Regions from separate parts of the Homo sapiens genome. Here all the other regions are linked to region 3. The links are contacts of gene promoters, found by promoter capture Hi-C in blood cells and fetal thymus (Javierre and others, 2016). All regions are on one chromosome and are shown on one strand. The core of a region is centred on a gene start or on the middle of the fragment in contact, and the rest is flanking DNA. Distances in the headings are between cores, read along the strand shown. Region 1 overlaps LOC283387 (a long non-coding RNA gene). Region 2 holds the start of DCTN2 (dynactin subunit 2). Region 3 holds the start of AGAP2 (ArfGAP with GTPase domain, ankyrin repeat and PH domain 2). Region 4 overlaps MBD6 (methyl-CpG binding domain protein 6). Region 5 overlaps KIF5A (kinesin family member 5A).

Evidence for each region. The method cuts DNA at HindIII sites, captures the fragments that hold promoters and counts their contacts. A CHiCAGO score of 5 or more calls a contact.
Region 1: a contact is called between a fragment that was not itself captured here and the fragment with the promoter of AGAP2 in region 3, in 1 of 17 cell types (M2 macrophages). The highest score is 5.5, in M2 macrophages.
Region 2: the fragment with the promoter of DCTN2 here is called in contact with the fragment with the promoter of AGAP2 in region 3 in 10 of 17 cell types (M1 macrophages, M2 macrophages, M0 macrophages and 7 more); the score reaches 11.2 in M1 macrophages.
Region 4: a fragment that was not itself captured here is called in contact with the fragment with the promoter of AGAP2 in region 3 in 12 of 17 cell types (naive CD8 T cells, naive CD4 T cells, M1 macrophages and 9 more); the score reaches 8.0 in naive CD8 T cells.
Region 5: a contact is called between a fragment that was not itself captured here and the fragment with the promoter of AGAP2 in region 3, in 12 of 17 cell types (M1 macrophages, erythroblasts, M2 macrophages and 9 more). The highest score is 19.4, in M1 macrophages.

What each region holds. Positions count from the first base shown.
Region 1 is chr12:57,878,646-57,881,981 of GRCh38, reverse strand. The region is part of intron 1 of LOC283387 (a long non-coding RNA gene); the gene reads left to right. All of the region lies in intron 1 of LOC124902948 (a long non-coding RNA gene), which reads right to left. Among named protein-coding and RNA genes, the nearest start is that of CTDSP2, 34 kb to the right of the region's middle. The HindIII fragment of the contact is 2,613 bases long and covers 365-2,977 here.
Region 2 is chr12:57,545,272-57,548,617 of GRCh38, reverse strand. It overlaps DCTN2 (dynactin subunit 2), which reads left to right and starts at 1,426. Exons shown (of 14, transcript NM_001261413.2): 1 at 1,426-1,590; 2 at 2,522-2,590. The coding sequence starts at 1,555. RefSeq lists an enhancer at 1,158-1,297. The HindIII fragment of the contact is 9,827 bases long and covers 1-3,346 here.
Region 3 is chr12:57,736,575-57,740,129 of GRCh38, reverse strand. It overlaps AGAP2 (ArfGAP with GTPase domain, ankyrin repeat and PH domain 2), which reads left to right and starts at 1,388. Exons shown (of 19, transcript NM_001122772.3): 1 at 1,388-3,051. The coding sequence starts at 1,884. RefSeq lists a silencer at 2,016-2,235. The HindIII fragment of the contact is 3,748 bases long and covers 1-3,145 here.
Region 4 is chr12:57,524,609-57,528,113 of GRCh38, reverse strand. It overlaps MBD6 (methyl-CpG binding domain protein 6), which reads right to left. Exons shown (of 13, transcript NM_052897.4): 4 at 3,292-3,394; 5 at 2,999-3,161; 6 at 1,726-2,766; 7 at 887-1,548; 8 at 454-607; 9 at 97-266. Among named protein-coding and RNA genes, the nearest start is that of MBD6, 3.5 kb to the right of the region's middle. The HindIII fragment of the contact is 1,043 bases long and covers 819-1,861 here.
Region 5 is chr12:57,563,158-57,566,836 of GRCh38, reverse strand. KIF5A (kinesin family member 5A) reads right to left here. Exons shown (of 29, transcript NM_004984.4): 2 at 3,311-3,398; 3 at 3,144-3,217; 4 at 2,625-2,729; 5 at 2,329-2,377; 6 at 1,864-1,919. Among named protein-coding and RNA genes, the nearest start is that of KIF5A, 15 kb to the right of the region's middle. RefSeq lists a silencer at 3,548-3,679. The HindIII fragment of the contact is 4,556 bases long and covers 1-3,679 here.

The sequences.
Region 1 (3,336 bases), core at 422-2,921, 140 kb before region 3:
GAATGAATGGAAAGAAACCCATAGTCACTTGGCCATCACCAGCTATAACTAAACAATGATAAGACCATACCTATAACTGGCATTTACTATTAGACTCACCATAAACTATGGGCACTGACACTGACAGCTGTCTCTGGGCACCTCCCTCATCCTGAGCTGACCTGGCAATGTCCAGATCACTCCCAAGAATGTGACTTTAAATATCCTGACCTTGACAATCCCAAGGCCTTCAATGGAGGGTGTGTGGCACTGAGACATATGAGTCATTCAAGGTGCCAGAAAAGTGTCACTGCTTCACTAAGGCTTTCAGAATACTCCCTGTCCTAAGGTGAGATGGAGGAAAGAAAATAAACATGGAAAAGCTTAGTAAACACTCTCCCCAGGGTTTGTCACATTCTCTACCTCCCACAGATGTGTCCAGAACTCTCTGACTATACAAGGGACACTGACAGAGGATCCCAGGCACACTCACTGCCAGGTCAGTGTCTGGACAAAGCAATCCTAATAGAGCCAAGGCAGAATTAAACATGATCAAGAAGTAAGGGAGCAGGGACTCAGGGCAAATCAGTTCCTGGAATCATAGTCTGCTTACTTCCCAAAACCACCTTGGTTCCAGAAACCCATGCTTTTCAGGTCTAATAGACAAGGCTGTGCTGAGCTCTCAGTCTGGGCCCTACACAGTGCACAGATACTATCAGGACAAAATGAGTCCTGCTGATCATCCCTAAAGAATTTAATACTAGGCCAGGCGCCGTGACTCATGCCTGTAATCCCAGCACTTTGGGAAGCCGAGGCCGGCGGATCACGAGGTCAGGAGTTCGAGACCAGCCTGACCAATGTGGTGAAACCCCGTCTCTACTAAAAATACAAAAACTAAAAACATATATATATATTAGCCGGGTGTGGTGGCATGGGCCTGTAATCCCAGCTACTGGGGAGGCTGAGGCAGGAGAATTGCTTGAACCCAGGAGGCAGAGGTTGCAGTGAGCCGAGATCATACCACTGCACTCCAGCCTGGGCAACAGAGCGAGATTCCGTCTCAAAAAAAAAAAGTAATAATTTCCTTCAATGCAGTGTTTCCCAAAGCGGGGCTCCCTGGCCACCCACATGTGGATCATCAAGGATATTTGTTAATAATGCAGATCCCCAAGCCCAATCCCAGATGGAAGGAATCAGATTCTTTGGGGATGAAGCCCAATAATCTGTATTTTTAATAAACGTCTTCTGTACACAAAAGTGTGAGAACCACTGTTTTAATGTTCACAGAAGACATTAAAGCAGTGGTTCTGTGAAGACAAATTCGTTGTGCTTTGGGACCTGAGAATTATGTTAGGAGTTGAAGTCTCTAGCCATTGTCATCTGAGCTTGAAGTTTCTTTGTGGGCTTCAAGTTTATTTGCTTCTGGTTGATTCTATGAGCTAGTATATGAAACCAGAGCTCCCCTTGAGACAGAGTTTCATTCTTGTTGCCCAGGCTGGAGTGCAATGGCATGATCTCGGCTCCCTGCAACCTCCACCTCCCAGGTTCAAGGAATTTTCCTGCCTCAGCCTCTCGAGTAGCTGGGATTACAGGTAGGCGCCACCAAGCCCAGCTAATTTTTGTATTTTTAGTAGAGATGGGGTTTCTCCATGGTGGTCAGTCTGGTCTAGAACTCCCGACCTCAGGCGATCCGCCCGCCTCCGCCTCCTAAAGTGCTGAGATTACAGGCGTGAGCCACCGCGCCCGGCCAAAACCAGAGCTCTTTGTGAGACTAGTCTTTGAGTCTGGAGTCTGGCCTGGGTATTTCTTTCACTAAGCAAATAGGTCTTAGTTCTCTTCCCAAATACCCAGCCTTACGTTTAGTCTCAAACTGTACCTTTGAACAACTTGAAGAAACTGCCTGGGAGGCACTCTAAATCTGGTCGTTGCCAATAGGCTGTGTCCCACTTACATCTGTCATGGAAGTTATGGTCACCTTTGTTTTAGGAGGAATAAAAAGCAGGAGGTGCTTGGGAAAGGGCTAGGGATAAGCCATCAACCATATCCCATATCCTATATCCCATATTCCATATCCTATAGCCCACATCCATATCCCATAGTCCATAGCCCATATCCCACATCCATAGCCCATATCTCATATCCCATATCCCACATCCATACCCCATATCTCATATCCCACAGCCCATATCCCATGTCCCATATTCCATATCCCATATCCCACATCCATAGCCCATATCCATATCCCATATCCATATCCCACATCCATAGCCCATAGCCCATATCCATATCCCACATCCATATCCCACATCAATATCCCATATCCCATATCCCACATCCATATCCCATATTCCATATCCCATATCCCACATCCGTAGCCCATAGCCCATATCCATATCCCACATCCATAGCCCATAGCCCATATCCATATTCCACATCCATATCCCATATCCCACATCCATATCCCATATGGCATAGCCCATATCCCATATCCATATCCCACATCCACATCCCATATCCCATATCCATATCCCACATCCCATATCCATATCCCACATCCATATCCCATAGCCTATATCCATATCCCATACCTCATATCCATGTCCCATAGCCCATATTCATATCCCATAGACCATATCCATATCCCATGTCCCATGTCCCATGTTCCATATCCCATATCCCATATCTTGTATCCCATATCCCATATCTCATATCCCATATCCCATACAATGCAATCCCCCATCCCTGTTTCTGTTCACATTAGGTTAGTGCAAAAGTAATTGCAGTTTTGCAATTCTTTTCGATGGCAAAAAACGCAATTACTTTTGCACTAACCTAATACTAACATACCTTGGGACAAAGTTTTCAGGGCTTTCTAGTCCTCTCAGCCATTTTTTTTTTTTTTTTTTTTTTTTTTTACCGTAGGCAGAAAGGGCTTCTCTTATCAAAGCTGTATTTTCTTCCTTCTCTGTTTTGGGGTAAGCTAGTTTGAACATAAGCTTACCCTTTTTTTTTTTTTTTTTTTTTGAGACGGAGTCTCGCTCTGTCACCCAGGCTGGAGGGCAGTGGCATGATCTCAGCTCACTGCAACCTCCACCTCCTGGGTTCAAGAGATTCTCCTGCCTCAGCCTCCCGAGTAGCTGGGATTACAGGTGTGCACCACCATGCTGGGCTAATTTTTGTATTTTTCGTAGAGACGGGGTTTCACCATGCTGATCAGGCTGGCCTCGAACTCCTGACCTCGTGATCCGCCCACCTTGGTCTCCCAAAGTGCTGGGATTACAGGCGTGAGCCACTGCACCAGGCCAGCAACTTACCTTTTTACAGTACTTTATTAATATTAACAAGAAGGAGCCAACC
Region 2 (3,346 bases), core at 177-2,676, 190 kb after region 3:
TCACTTGGTTTGGCACAATTTCTAAGTGTTGCAGCATCCTGCAAGCTCAGGAAACATCCTGGGAAACATCCCATCCTTGGGTCCCCAGGGGCTCCAAGGTGGCATCTTTAGTAAAGGGGTTTCAAAATGCCAGTCCATGGAGGGTCACTGGTCAGAGACAAAAGTTCACTGAGTATGCCCTCACCTCCAAAAGAACAATGGTGAGTTTTTTTTTAATATAAAGATGGATTTGATAAGTTTCAAAGGACTATCTTTTATTCTGAGTGTGTCCTTCTTGCTTTTCTACCAAGTAATGATGGTGACAGTAAATAATAGGTTTTCTATTTGTAATATACTTACTTGATAAAATAAAAAGGCAAATCTTCAAGGTTTGTAGTTGTTTTAATTTTATTGAACGATGAAATTTAAAAGTCTGAGAACGGAAGGTAAGGTTGGTGAATAGGTACAAAAAATTAGAAAGTATAATAAGACCTACTATTTGATGGCACAATAGGGTGACTATAGTCAAGAATAACTCAACTGTACATTTTAAAATAACTTAAAGAGTAATTGGATTATTTGTAACTTAAAGGATAAATGCTTGAGAGGATGGATACCCTCTTCTCCATGATGTGCTTATTTCACATTGCATGCCTGTATCAAAATATCTCATGTGTCCCATAAATACATACACCTACTGTGTACCCACAAAATTGAAAAAATTGAAAAATAAATAAAAGTCTGAGAACTATTAACGAAGTAGTTAAGAGCCCAGAGAGTGTTCAGACAGACATGGAGACACCACTTACCTACTTATGAACTTCAGATAGAATTGCCAGATTTGAAAAACAAAAAACAAAAACAGGATGCCCAGTTAAATGTGAATTTCAGATACTTAATTTTTGGGGGGTTAGTATACCCACACACCACACACCACACACACACACCTACTTATTATCTGAAATTCAAATTATCTGAAAGCCCTTACTTGAGAAGATTGCCTAACTTTTTCATTCCTAACATACACTACGCGTTTACTAAATTTTACTTCTTGTTTTTATTTTGTTTTTATAATACACAGTATCAAGCAAACTTCTTGTTTTTGAAACCCCGGCTGTGTCACAGTATGACTACCTGTATCATTTAATCTAGTCATTTTATTCCTGGGAGCCCCAAACAGGAATTATAAATGTTCTTTCACTGACTTGCTGTAAAAGTGAGAGAAAAGGCTGTATGAAATAGCTCCCCAAGGTTCGTTATTGTCGCTCCCCGCCCAAGCTCCAGTACACCAAAACTACACATCCCACAATCCTAGGCGGCGTCCCCTGGCCATTACCTCATTCCCTGGCCTCGTTCTCCCCAATCCCGGCCTCTCCAGGGGTGTGGCAGCAGGGCTGTTCTCGCGACTTTTGCTTTACCCTTCTGCTGTGCTACTGCTGTCGCGAGACTTCCTGCTCATCTGCCGCTCCCTTTGCCGCCGCCTTAGCCCGGGACCCGAACCCAGCCTCTCCCCTACCCGAACACCGGCCCCGGCTCCACCGAGGCCCGGGTCCCCCAGCCCGTCTCGCCGCCGCCATGGCGGACCCTAAATACGCCGACCTTCCCGGCATTGTGAGTACAGGACCGGCCCCGGCTCCCCAGGACCGCGCCCCCGACCTCCCAAGGACCCCCAGCAGAAACCAGCCCGCGACCCCTCCCGCCTGCAGCCCATCCTCCGCCCAAGGGCTCCCGCCGCTCGTTCTCCGATCGGCCTCAGCACCCCCCGAACTCTTCTGACCCGACTGGGCCGGGCCGCCGGACGGCGCACCAGGCCCCCTTTCCGGCAGTCGCCGGTAGCTCGGCCCAGAAATCGACTCCGGGTACTGACCTCTTGTGCCTGAGTTTTTCCACCATCCGTGTCAACGCCTCCCATGTCCCCCCCAAATCTCTCCATAAGACCCCATCGCTACCCCAGACACACACACCAGACCACTTAACGATGGCCTTCATCCTGCCAAGGAAGAGGTTCTGCCATCTGGCAGAACCCTCTTGTGCCAGATGGGGAGCTCTATCCTTGAGGGAACCTATGCCCTCCCCCAGCCCCCACTCCCATGACAATCCTGGCGTGTACCTTCCTTTTGTGCTGCCCTGCCTGCTTCTCAAGGTGAGGGTTGGGACACAGGACCTTGAGTACTAAGGTCCTGAGTCACTCTCAATCCTTGTGCCAGGGTGGTGGTGTACGGGGCCTAATTGGAGGATAGCCTTCACCTTCTTTGGCAATAGTGATTGCCAAGGACCTGCCCGCCTCTAGATTTAGGGTAACATCGTTGCTATCACTTACACTCACCGTTTACTGTCAGGTCCCAATTGTTTCCGCTGTCATCCCTACCCCTTGAGACATGGGAACTGACATACTGTTGACTCACGGGGCAGGTGGAGGAGAAAGGACAGAACCCTGACATCACACCCCGCCTTCTCTGTTAGCTTATTCAAATGGAGTGGGGGAAGGGGTGTTGTTGGATGCTGGGTAGTGAGGTTGGGTGGTCACTGCTTCTACCTGCAGGCCAGGAATGAGCCAGATGTTTATGAAACTAGCGACCTACCTGAGGATGATCAAGCGGAGTTCGATGCGGTAAGAATGTGTGCTGCCACAGACTCCTCCGGACTCTGACCTTTCTCCCCTAGACAGGTCCTTCCCTTTCTCGGGGGAGCTACAGCAATAAGCGGGTATGCCAACCCCAGCCTGGGTGGTATATAGGTTGCAGGGCTTGCAAAGACCTTGCTGGGCTTGCAGCCACCAATGAGCAATGGCAGGAGGGAGAGTCAAGTCAGCGGAATTACAGCTAACAACATCTGTTTGCAAAGCCCTGATTCTTGGGCCTTTTAAATAAAATTGAAATATCTCAAAACAGGTTTGGAGCTAGTGACTTAGGCCCCTGGGTTCTAACCCATGGAAATGAATCATGAAGCCTGGGCACTTGTAATAAACTGCTACCAAGAACTAGACTTTGAAATATGGAGAAATACTTTTTCCATATGAATATCCAGTATCCATTGGGCAAGGAATTAAGAAAGTGATTCCAAGATTTTAGAGCAAAACAAATTTGAGGAAGAATGTAAATATTTCACATCAGCGGATGTGAGACTGTGGTTGCATTTTTAGATCCGAGAATTCTGAGGATGGAGTAATTAGGTACGGATACATTTTAACTGTGAGGGGAAACATTTAGTATGGTTTATTGAGTGTGTTCATTCTGTGGTTTTTTTTGTGCAATGCAGAGGAAGAAATGTCTCTGCCCCCAATGAGCCCCAGACTAATGGGGAATTAGGATACATATAGGAAACATATAGAAGGAAAAAAAAATTGAGTGAATGGAAATCAACATAG
Region 3 (3,555 bases), core at 139-2,638:
AGGAGGGTGGGACGCCAAATCAGGGGACTGCTGTGACTCCCCAAGTCCCGGGAAGGGGTCTCCAAGGCTGCAGAGAGACCTTCCTTCGCCCATCTTACCCCACCCCCAAGGGGTCTCAACCTCTTTTCCACTTTGGCCTAACCACTTCAGGATTCTCACCTGGCTGGAGGATAGAGAGCCTTGAACTCCAAGACCCCTAGAGGGGTGGGGGACACGGAGCAGACGGTTTCCATTCACTCTGCCTGCCTCCTCTTTAATCTTCTGAAAGAATCCCACTCAGCAAACCTCAGGAGACTGAAAGGGAACCCTGAAGAGGCCGGCTCTCACTGCCTCAACTGAAGGGTCCTTATACTTGGGGAGTGAAATCCTCCACCTGTGGGTAGCCAGGTGTCAGGGCAGTGCCTCCACTAATTCAGCATCCCGCGGTTGGTCCCCTACCCACCATACACACGGATTCCTCTCTGCTTCTGCCCGCTGTTTCTGAGGCACTCTTGGAGCTACGGTTGCTATGGAGACTGGATGCATTTTGGCATGGGGGGGTATCAGTCTAAGACACATCCTTCTCCCTCCTCCTAGAGCTGGAGCCTTTGACTTACCCTGTGGCCTGGGCTCCTCCAGCACTCAGATCTCTCCCTTCTCTCCTACCCTGCTAAGTTCCATGTTTGTCCCCATCCCTGGGGAACATTTTCCAAGTTCACTTTGGGACAGTCGAGCTCAAGTCTTGGCCCCGTCAAAGTATTAAATGTGGTGGTGTGAGTGGGAAAGGGAGCTGGGTCATGAGAACGGGAACCGTCCAGGTACCTGGGGGAGACAAGAGATCCTGGGGGAAGGGATTTCAGGGCCCCCACTTTCCCACTTCATCTTCCCCAGAATTGGCAGTGACCCTGGGTTTGCTCTGTTTACCGCGGCCCCTGTCCACCCAATAGATCGATTTTCACCCTTATCCCTAAATGCCATACCTCACAATCGCGCTTCCTAACCTTGGTGCGCGAGAGGAGGGGGCTAGGTTGTTGGAGGAGGTGAGTCCAAGTCCCAGGAAATCCAGCCCAGGATTTGGGAGAGAAATCCAGCCCTGGATTTTGCACCGCCCTCGCAGACATCGGTGCTGGTGGAGAAAAGGTGGGGGGGAGATAGGGTGGGGGGGCCTGGGGGCCGCCTCCTCCTCAATGTGAGGGGAGCGCCCGGACACAGCGCGCATCCGGACCAAGCCGAGCCCAGGCGAGGCCCCCGGACTCTTCGCCCGGATCTCACGCCCCTCCCCTCCCAGACCCCAGACCCGTGGGTTCCCACCCACCTCCCGTTCCCTCTTTCCTCCCCCGCCGCCTCCTGTATCTCCATCCCCAGCATCCTCCCCGCGCCCCTGCGAATCCCCCGCACGGCCAGCCCCACTAGCTTCCCACCCTCCTCTAGACCCTCTTTCCGACCGCATCCGCGGCCCCTGTCCCTTGAGTCCCAATTCCCCGCCCCTGCCTCCCCCGCACAGGTTCGTTTCCCCTAGCCTCCGGTCCCCTTTTCTGCTCCCTTTTCCTCTCTCTCCCCCATTTGCCCCCACTACTGTCCTCCCCGCCCTCCCCCACCCATCTCAGCGCCCCCACCCAGGCCGGGGTGGACGGTCCGGCGCGCCTCCCTGGAGCAGCACCAAGGTCCCGGGGCTCCAAGAGGGTGGGGGCGCAGGGCGGGGAGCATGGGGAGGGGGCGCCCCATGTGATGGGAGGGGGGCGCAAGCGGAGGCGGCGGAGGCGGCGGCGACAGCGGAGCCGGGCCGGGGGCTCAGCGGGGTCCGGGGGCTGGGGGCAGCGAGCAGGGCGGCCCCATGGCCGGGCCCCCCTGAGGCAGTCCGGGGGAGTCCCCTCCCCTCCCCAGCTCGGGGGTCTCCGGGCCCCATGAGCCGGGGCGCGGGCGCGCTTCAGCGCCGGACAACGACCTACCTCATCTCGCTGACCCTGGTTAAGCTCGAGTCGGTGCCTCCGCCGCCGCCTTCTCCGTCTGCGGCCGCGGCCGGCGCCGCCGGTGCCAGAGGCTCCGAGACTGGGGATCCTGGCAGCCCCCGAGGCGCGGAGGAGCCGGGCAAGAAGCGGCACGAACGTCTCTTCCACCGGCAGGATGCGCTGTGGATCAGCACGAGCAGCGCGGGCACCGGGGGCGCGGAGCCCCCAGCCCTGTCCCCGGCTCCGGCCAGTCCGGCCCGCCCAGTCTCCCCCGCTCCCGGCCGCCGCCTCTCCCTCTGGGCCGTCCCTCCGGGACCCCCGCTCTCCGGGGGACTGAGCCCCGACCCCAAGCCTGGGGGCGCCCCCACCTCCTCCCGGCGCCCCCTGCTCAGCAGCCCGAGCTGGGGCGGCCCGGAGCCCGAAGGCCGGGCGGGCGGCGGCATCCCTGGCTCATCCTCTCCGCACCCTGGCACCGGCAGCCGGAGGCTCAAGGTGGCGCCTCCTCCGCCGGCTCCCAAGCCTTGCAAGACCGTGACCACGAGTGGAGCCAAAGCCGGCGGGGGCAAGGGCGCGGGTAGCCGCCTGTCATGGCCCGAAAGCGAGGGCAAGCCCAGGGTCAAGGGGTCAAAGAGCAGCGCCGGGACTGGAGCTTCGGTCTCTGCCGCCGCCACCGCCGCCGCCGCCGGGGGAGGGGGCTCTACAGCTTCGACCTCTGGTGGGGTCGGGGCTGGGGCTGGAGCCCGAGGGAAGTTGTCCCCTCGGAAAGGCAAGAGTAAGACCTTGGACAACAGTGACTTGCATCCGGGACCGCCTGCCGGCTCTCCTCCTCCGCTAACCCTCCCACCAACTCCGAGTCCAGCCACTGCTGTCACCGCTGCTTCCGCGCAGCCCCCCGGGCCTGCACCTCCAATCACTCTGGAGCCTCCAGCTCCGGGGCTGAAACGGGGCCGGGAGGGGGGCCGAGCATCCACTCGTGACCGCAAGATGCTCAAGTTTATCAGCGGCATCTTCACCAAGAGCACAGGAGGGCCTCCTGGCTCCGGGCCCCTTCCCGGACCCCCCAGCCTGTCTTCTGGCAGCGGGTCCAGGGAGCTGCTGGGCGCCGAGCTCCGCGCTTCCCCTAGTGAGTTGAGTCAGGGCTTGAGAACAGGGAGGGAAGGGTACCTGGAATGCTCAGCTTGGGGTGGAGGAGCGAGGTCCAGGAAACTAGGGAAGCTTTTCTCTGGGGTGGGCGGATGAACCAAGCTCACCCCTCTGTCAAGGATTGGGGCAAAGAATAGGAGTCCTGAAGCGGGGCGAGTAGCTACATTGTGCGACAGGAGAAAGGACTTGATTTCAGAGGGACTCAGCCTCAGAGCTTTCTGGGAAAGTAACGTCCTTGATCAGAGTGACTAGAAAATTGCTCCCAGAGAAGCCCAGGACCCCACTTCCAGCCTCAGCTGAACTCTGGGAGCATGGAAACGGGGCTTTGCCGTGTTTAGAGCGACGTTGAAGGTGAAGGGGATGAGGAAGCCTCAGTTTCCCCTGAGCACTTGGGGCAGGTGGCATGACAGTGACCTTGCAGGCAGCTTCTCGCCAGGGACTAGTCGTCCCCTGGGCTGAGAGCAGGCTAGTGATGTTTTTCGTG
Region 4 (3,505 bases), core at 91-2,590, 210 kb after region 3:
CAAATACCGTCCCTCTTCTACTATAACTCAGAAAGCCCTAAATTTCCAGTTTGAGAAAAAATTATCTCCCTGACAAATATATGCCCACACCCTCACCTGGAGACTCTGTAGCAGGCAGGCTAGGGGACTAGAAGCCTCTGAGAGGGGTGGAGGAGCTCCCCCCCCAGGGAGGAGCTGCAGCCCCAACTGGCCAGAGAGAAGAGGGCCAGGAGGCTGCAACAGGCTGGGGAGGGCTCCAGGGCTGCTGGTCAGTGAAGACAGGTCACCTGTTGAGAAATTATAGTCAGGGGTCTCTCCCTAGGCAAACCAATTAGGCTGAGCAGACCTACTATTCTCTTTAGGCTTTATCCAGTGGCCAAAGACTTTCTTCCCCAATTTATTCAGCCACTACTCCCAAGTTTTACTCCTGCTTTTTCACACCAAGAGTGTGAATTCACACTCCCTCAGACTCACCCAGCAGGCTGGCACCCAGCAGAGGGCTAAGGAGTTGGGGGGGTCTCCCTGAGTTGGAGGGGGCCTTGCCCAGAGAGGAGGCCCCCGGGTCAGTAGTTGCCGTGGTGACACTGGAGGTAGGTGGTCCAGGTTGGGGGGCACTCAGGACACAGGGCTAAGAAAAAAGAATGATTCTAACACTTACGCGTGTAAAATACTCAACAGATTTATAGTGCTTTCACATCCACTATCTGACTGAAGCCTCAAGTGAGATAGGCCATGCTTATTAAATACAGACCCAATTCTTGCAGTCATCCTACCCCCAGCCAAGAACTAAGGCCTCCCCAAAGGCCCCAAGGAAGAGCTCAGGAATGAAACTGAAAGCTTTTGATTCCCAGCTCCCATCTCTTATTCTACATCTTGTTCTGTCCCACCTACTCACCCCCATCCTCACCTGGGGGGGTGTCCCCGAGGGGGGATCCAGGGTGGCAGCCAGCAGCGCAGAATTTAAAGCTATGAGGGTAGGGGGGGCTGAAAGTGGGGGGAAAAGTAGGGGGGACAGGTCTCCCAAGCCTGAAAATGGCTCCCCACTTGGACCCCCGGCTCCCTCTGCAGATCCCTCCCCATCCCCAGCTGTGGGGCCCAGAGCCAACAGGGGCAGGAAAGAGGCAAGGAGGTTGCTGGGAGGTGCTGAAGGAGGTGGAAGAAGGTCTGAGGGTGGTGGAGGAAGCAAGGAAGCCACCAAAAGCGAAGGCCCTTCAGGCTCTCCTGGGGCTAGGGGAGGACCAGGTCCTCCTGGTGGGGGTAGCAGGGGCTCAGGGGGAGGTTGTCCTCCTCCCCCAGTCAGCACACCAAATAAACTGTGGTTGAGCAATGGAGAAGGTGGAGGCTGCCCCAGACTCAGAGGGAGAGGCAAGGCCCCAAGCATCCCAGGGAAGCCAGCTCCACTCAGTGCCAGGCCCTGCTCAGGGCTGGGGAAAGGGAAAGCCTCTCCACCAGCCAGGGGAGGCAGAGGGCAGGCCGGGCCTGCCCCCATCCCCAGTCCTTCGGATGGGCTTTGAAGCACAGGGCTGGGGACTACTGGGGCTTTGGAGGCAGCTGGTGGGGCAGGGGCACCTGTAAAAGAGGAGAGAAATTCAGCTCAAGGGAGGCCCTTTCTCCCATCATCCAAAGAAGCCAACCTCCCTGCCCCCAACCCAGAAAACCCTCAAAGAGCTCTCTGAACATTCCCCTAAATGCCTTGGCTGCCTCTTTCCAGCCAGGATGAGGAAGGGCTCCACAATACTCACATACCTGGCACACTGCTGAGGCTGCCACTGGTGGTCCCAGGCAGGGAGGGCTGGATGGGGTGCCTGGGCTGGGGAGGGCTCCCTGAGGAGAGGGTTGGGGGAGGAGGAAGGTGTGCATCTGACCCCAAAAGGTTAAAGCTTCCATCAGAGTGGGAAGGGCCAGGGGTGGGGAGTCCCAGCAGGGACAGCACAGAAGGGAGAATTGGTTGGGATGGCTCCGGGAGAGAAAAGGGTTGGGGGACAGGAGCAGGGGCCCGAGGACGGCTCCGTCTAGGGGTTTGAGGGCCTCTCCCTTCTAGCAATCGAAATACAGTAGGGGGTCTGCGGGGACGACGCTGAGAGGGACGAAGTGATGAGGAGTGGGAAGCTGAGGGTGCCTGGGCACGGGGCCTTCGGCCCTGTAAAGTGCTGGGAGGGGGTAGTGGGGGATGCTGTGCCTTGGCCGCTGCAGAGAGTAGGCTGCTAGCAAGGAAGGGGGGTGCCCCAGGCCCCTCCACCGTGGGGGCCCCTCCCAGGGGCCCCAGGACCAGGGGCAGGTGCATAGTGGCTGAAGACACTGGTGGCTGAGAGGCAGGACCAGGGTGGGCGGGGAGATTATTGCTCGGGGGCAGGGGAGGGGGTGTTAAGGCATCACTACAGTGGAAGAGAGGAGGGTCTGAAGGTGGTGAGGAGGAGGCATGAGGGGCCGGAGGAGAGCCCAGGTCAGAGGGCACCAGGCTGGATCTGAGGGCAGCTCCCCAGTTGTATGAGGGAGCATTGAGGCTGATAGCAGGTGGAGGAGGTGGGGCTGGAGAGGGGGCATTGCCCCTTGGGAGGAAACGGGGGCTGCTACTGCCCCCAGAAGGGACTGGGTCAGCAAGCCTTGGGGGGAAAAGCCCCCCAGGGCCTGCTAGAGTGGGAAAGGCCTGGGAAACTGAGGGTGGTTCTGGGGGAAGGGAGCCAGGACCCCCATTAAGTGGAGTTGTAGGAGGAACTCGACAGGGAGGGCGGGCAGAGGGGGGCCCTGGGGACACAGTGTGGAACATTTGGGGGCTCGCTCCCTCTCCTGCAATAAATGAAAAATGAAGGGTCAGCCTGTGGCTCCCCTTCCAAAAACTCTTTTGTCTTCTCTAGTCCCATCTCCCACAAGTTCCCAACCTCCCTGTGCCCTCCTTTCAACATGCAGCTCCCCACCCACTCCCCTTTCTCTTTGCTCCCTCTCAAGGAACTCCTCCCACCACCAGCCTTCCAAGCCCTTAGGTTTTCCTCGGTCTTCTGTAAAGTGGCAGAAGACTCACCAGGAGAAGAGTGTGAGCAGGTGGTCTCCATGCTGCGGTACAGAGTTGCCATAGCAACAGCTTTCCGCCGGTGGTTGCACAGCTTGGTCATGTCCTCCTCTGATGCTGGCCCCACCCCAGCCCCACCCGGGGTCACCGGGGCCAAAGGGTCAAAGTTGAAAACCTGTAAGGTGGAAAGCAAGGACAGGGACCCTGAGGGGCTGGAACCTGTGAGAAGGGCTACCTCAGTCAGTGATTTGCATTAAGACTTTTAGCTTATCTCTGTACTCTCAGGCGCCCCTCACCACTCTGACCTTGGGGACATTAAGTGGACACTCCAGACCGCACTTGCAGGTCCCATCGCTGAGGAGGTAGCTCCGGGTTTGCTCCAAGGAAGACAGCTCTGTGCCACTTGGACTGCGAGAGGACAGGGTCAGAGGACATGGGGTTAGCTGGCAGCGAATCAGGCAATACTCCTAAAGCACAGTGCTTAAGTTACAGATCCTCCTAGAAGAACAGAGGATAAGG
Region 5 (3,679 bases), core at 774-3,273, 170 kb after region 3:
AAGTCCTGACCTCGTGATCCGCCTGCCTTGGCCTCCCAAAGTGCTGGGATTACAGGCTTGAGCCACCATGCCCTGCTTTGTATTTATTTTTATCTTACGTATTTACTACTTTTTTGAAACAGTGGCGGGCATGGTGGCTCACGCCTGTAATCCCAGCACTTTGGTTTGGGAGGCCAATGTGGGTGGATCACCTGAGGTCAGGAGTTCGTGACCAGCCTGGCCAACATGGCAAAATCCCATCTCCACTAAAAATACAAAATTAGCCAGACGTGGTGGCACATGCCTGTAATTCCAGCTACTCAGGAGGCTGAGGCAGGAGAATCACTTGAACTCGGGAGGCTGAGGTTGCAGTAAGCCAAGATCGGGCGCCACTGTACCCCAGCCTGGGCAACAAGAGAGAAACTCTGTCTCAAAAAAAAAAAAACACTGTCGCAGCCAGGTGCAGTGGCTTATGCCTGTAATGCCAGCACACTGGGAGGCTGAGGTGGGCGGATCACCTGAGGTCAGGAGTTCGAGACTAGCCTGGCTAACATGGTGAAACCCCATCTCTACTAAAAATACAAAAATAAGTGGGCCTGGTGGCAGGCACCTATAATCCCATATGCTTGGGAGGCTGAGGCAGGAGAATCACTTGAACCCAGGAGGCAGAGGTTGCAGTGAGCCAAGATCATGCCATTGCACTACAGCCTGGGTGACAGAGTGAGAATCTGTCTCCAAAAACAAAAACAAACAAACAAAAAAAACCACTGTCTCTCTACTACACAGGCTGGAGTGCAGTGGCACTATCATGGCTCACTGCAACCTCAAACTCTTGAGCTCAAGCAATTCTCCCGCCTCAGCCTCCTGAGTAGCTGGGACTACAGGTGTGTGCCACCATGCCTGACAAAAATTTTTTTTTTTTTTTAAACAAGAGACTCAGCATAGTGGCTCATGCCTGTAATTCCAGCACTTTGGGAGGCTGAGGCAGGTGGATCACCTGAGGTCAGGAATTAGAGACCAGCCTGGCCAACATGGTGAAACCCCGTCTCTACTAAAAATACTAAAATCAGCCAGGCGTGGTGGCACATGCCTGTAGTCCCAGCTACTCGGGAGCCTGACGCAGGAGAATCGTTTGAACCCAGGACAGGGAGGTTGCAGTGACCCTAGGTCGAGCCACTGCACTCCAGCCTGGGCAACAGAGTGAGACTCTGTCTCCAAAAAAAAAAAAAAAAAAAATTAGATTAAATAAGAGAGACGGGTCTTGCTATGTTGGCCAGGCTGATCTTGAACTCCTCAAGTGATCCTCCCACCTCAGCCTTCTAAAGTGTTGGGATTACAGGCATTTCTTCCAGTAAACTTTGATTTGCAAATTAAATTGCATGCACACTGACCAATGACCTTTCAAGACAGTATCTTTTCTTTTCTTCTTTTTTTTTAAAGACAGGTTCTCACTCTGTCGCCCAGGCTGGAGTGCAGTGGCGCAATCTCGGCTCACCGCAACCTCTGCCTCCCAGGTTCAAGAGATTCTCCTGCTTCAGTGTCCCAAATAGCTGGGATTACAAGCATGTGCCACCACGCCCAGTTAATTTTTTGTATTTTTAGTAGAAACGGGGTTTCACTATATTGGCCAGGCTGGTCTTGAACTCCCGGCCTCAAGTGATCCACCCACCTCAGCCTCCCAAAGTGCTGGGATTACAGGTATGAGCCACCATGCCCAGCCAAGACAGTATCTTTTCTGATCCCCTAGACTCTCCCTGGCCCCTAGGCACATCTCATTCCTCCAGGATATCCACCCTCCAACTTCAGGGTCACTGACCTATGCTCCTCCCCCACCAACATTCTCAATACACTGGCCCCACATAGGTGCCCCACACCCACTCTCACCTTGACAAATGGCACCCGGTTCTTGTCCTCGTGCACGGACAGATTTGTCTTGGTCACTGAATCAAAAGAATGCAGGGTAAGCAAGACTAGTACTTCCACCGCCCCCATCTGCACCTTGCAGTCAGCTCAGATGGTGGTTTTCTTCTCTGTGCTAAAGGAAGACTCTCCCTGTGAAGCCTAAACTCCCTGCACGAGCTGAAGGCTCAGTTCCTCCTCCTTCTCCTCCTCAGGGCTCCTGCTCCTCGGCCCCAGATCCTCTCGAACTGTTTATATGTAGTCCTTGGCTGCTAAGCTCATCTCCTGACCTTCTCAGTTTTTGGAAATTCTGGTAAACGGGGCCAAAAGACTTGGGTGCTGTGTGCCCTCTGCATCTCTTGTCAATTGGTACCTAATTCCAAATGCAATGTGAGCTTTCTTTTCTCCACCCTCCTCACACACCCTCATCCACTGGGACAAAACACTCACCATCCAGAAGGTCACGAATTTTGTCCAGGTAAATTTCAAAGTAAGAAACCTGGTTAAGAAGAAAGAAGGAGTGTGAAGTAAAGAGGGCCTATCTTAAATCTAGTTCAGGAATCCCATACTAATGTGACCTGCTCAAACGGTGGTGGGAGGAAAAGAACAGAAGAGAACATCTTGACAAAGAACTCTGGTAACCGGAAAGGGAGTCAAGTTGGGGAGCCCAGGCTCTTCAGTGGGAAGATTTTAGATCTTCCCCTCCCAGTCCCCATCTGAATGCCCAGCTGTCGTGCCCTGGTCACCTTGATGTGGAACTCAAGGTTCTCATCCATGGAGTAGATGTGGTTGAAGATGTCTCGGGCAATTCGAGGAATGATTCCCATCAGCTGAGGGTCGTGCAGCTTTCCCTGGCGAGTGAAGGTATTTGAGAGTGAAGCTGGGGCTCAGGGAGAATGAGACAACTCAGATGTATGCAGGTGAACACCAAGGCAAGAGTCAATAAGAAGAACATCCTAAGTTAGGAGATGGTCACCACCATGTCTGCCTTTTAGAGGAGCAAGGAGATAATTGAGTAGCCCTTTGGACTTCCATTGCTTTTCCCGATCAAAAGAAGACTGGAGTAGTGGAAAGGATGATCCACTGCAGTGGGTTGGAGGGATTCCATTAAACTTCCCCTAATATTGCCCTTCAGTTCATCCTCTGTACTCATCTATCTGCCTCTGGACCAGGCAATCCTTGATTCCTAGACCTTCCCCCACTGAGATTCCCTGATCTTCCATTAACACTCCTAGCCCCTCAACCACCAAAGCCAGAACCCTCACCTCCATGGTATGTGTTTTCCCTGAGGATGTCTGTCCATAAGCAAAAATGGTGCCATTGTAGCCAGCAAGGACATCTGGAAGAGACAGTAGAGAAAGAGTACTGGTGGAGATAGGTCGGGTAGGAAATGGGGTGCTGAGAAGAGACATTCTAAAAAGAAATCTATTACCTTTGACAATCTGCATGGCACATGCATGATAAACTTGCTCTTGAGTCGTGTTTGGGGGGAATACACGGTCAAAAACATATGGCTTCCCCTGGAATGAAAATAAAAGATATCAGACGTCAACAGGCAGGATGTGAGGGAAAAGAAATACCACAACCTCCTTCCAGCAGCTGAGAAAGGCACCCTTTTCTTCAATGCCCTTAATGAACAGAAATGTGGGAGAATGGCCGGGCGTGGTGGCTCACACCTGTAATCCCATCATTTTAAGAGGCTGAGGCAGGCGGATCACGAGGTCAGGAGTTCAAGACCAGCCTGACCAATATGGTGAAACCCCGTCTCTACTAAAAATACAAAAATTAGCCTGGTGTGGTG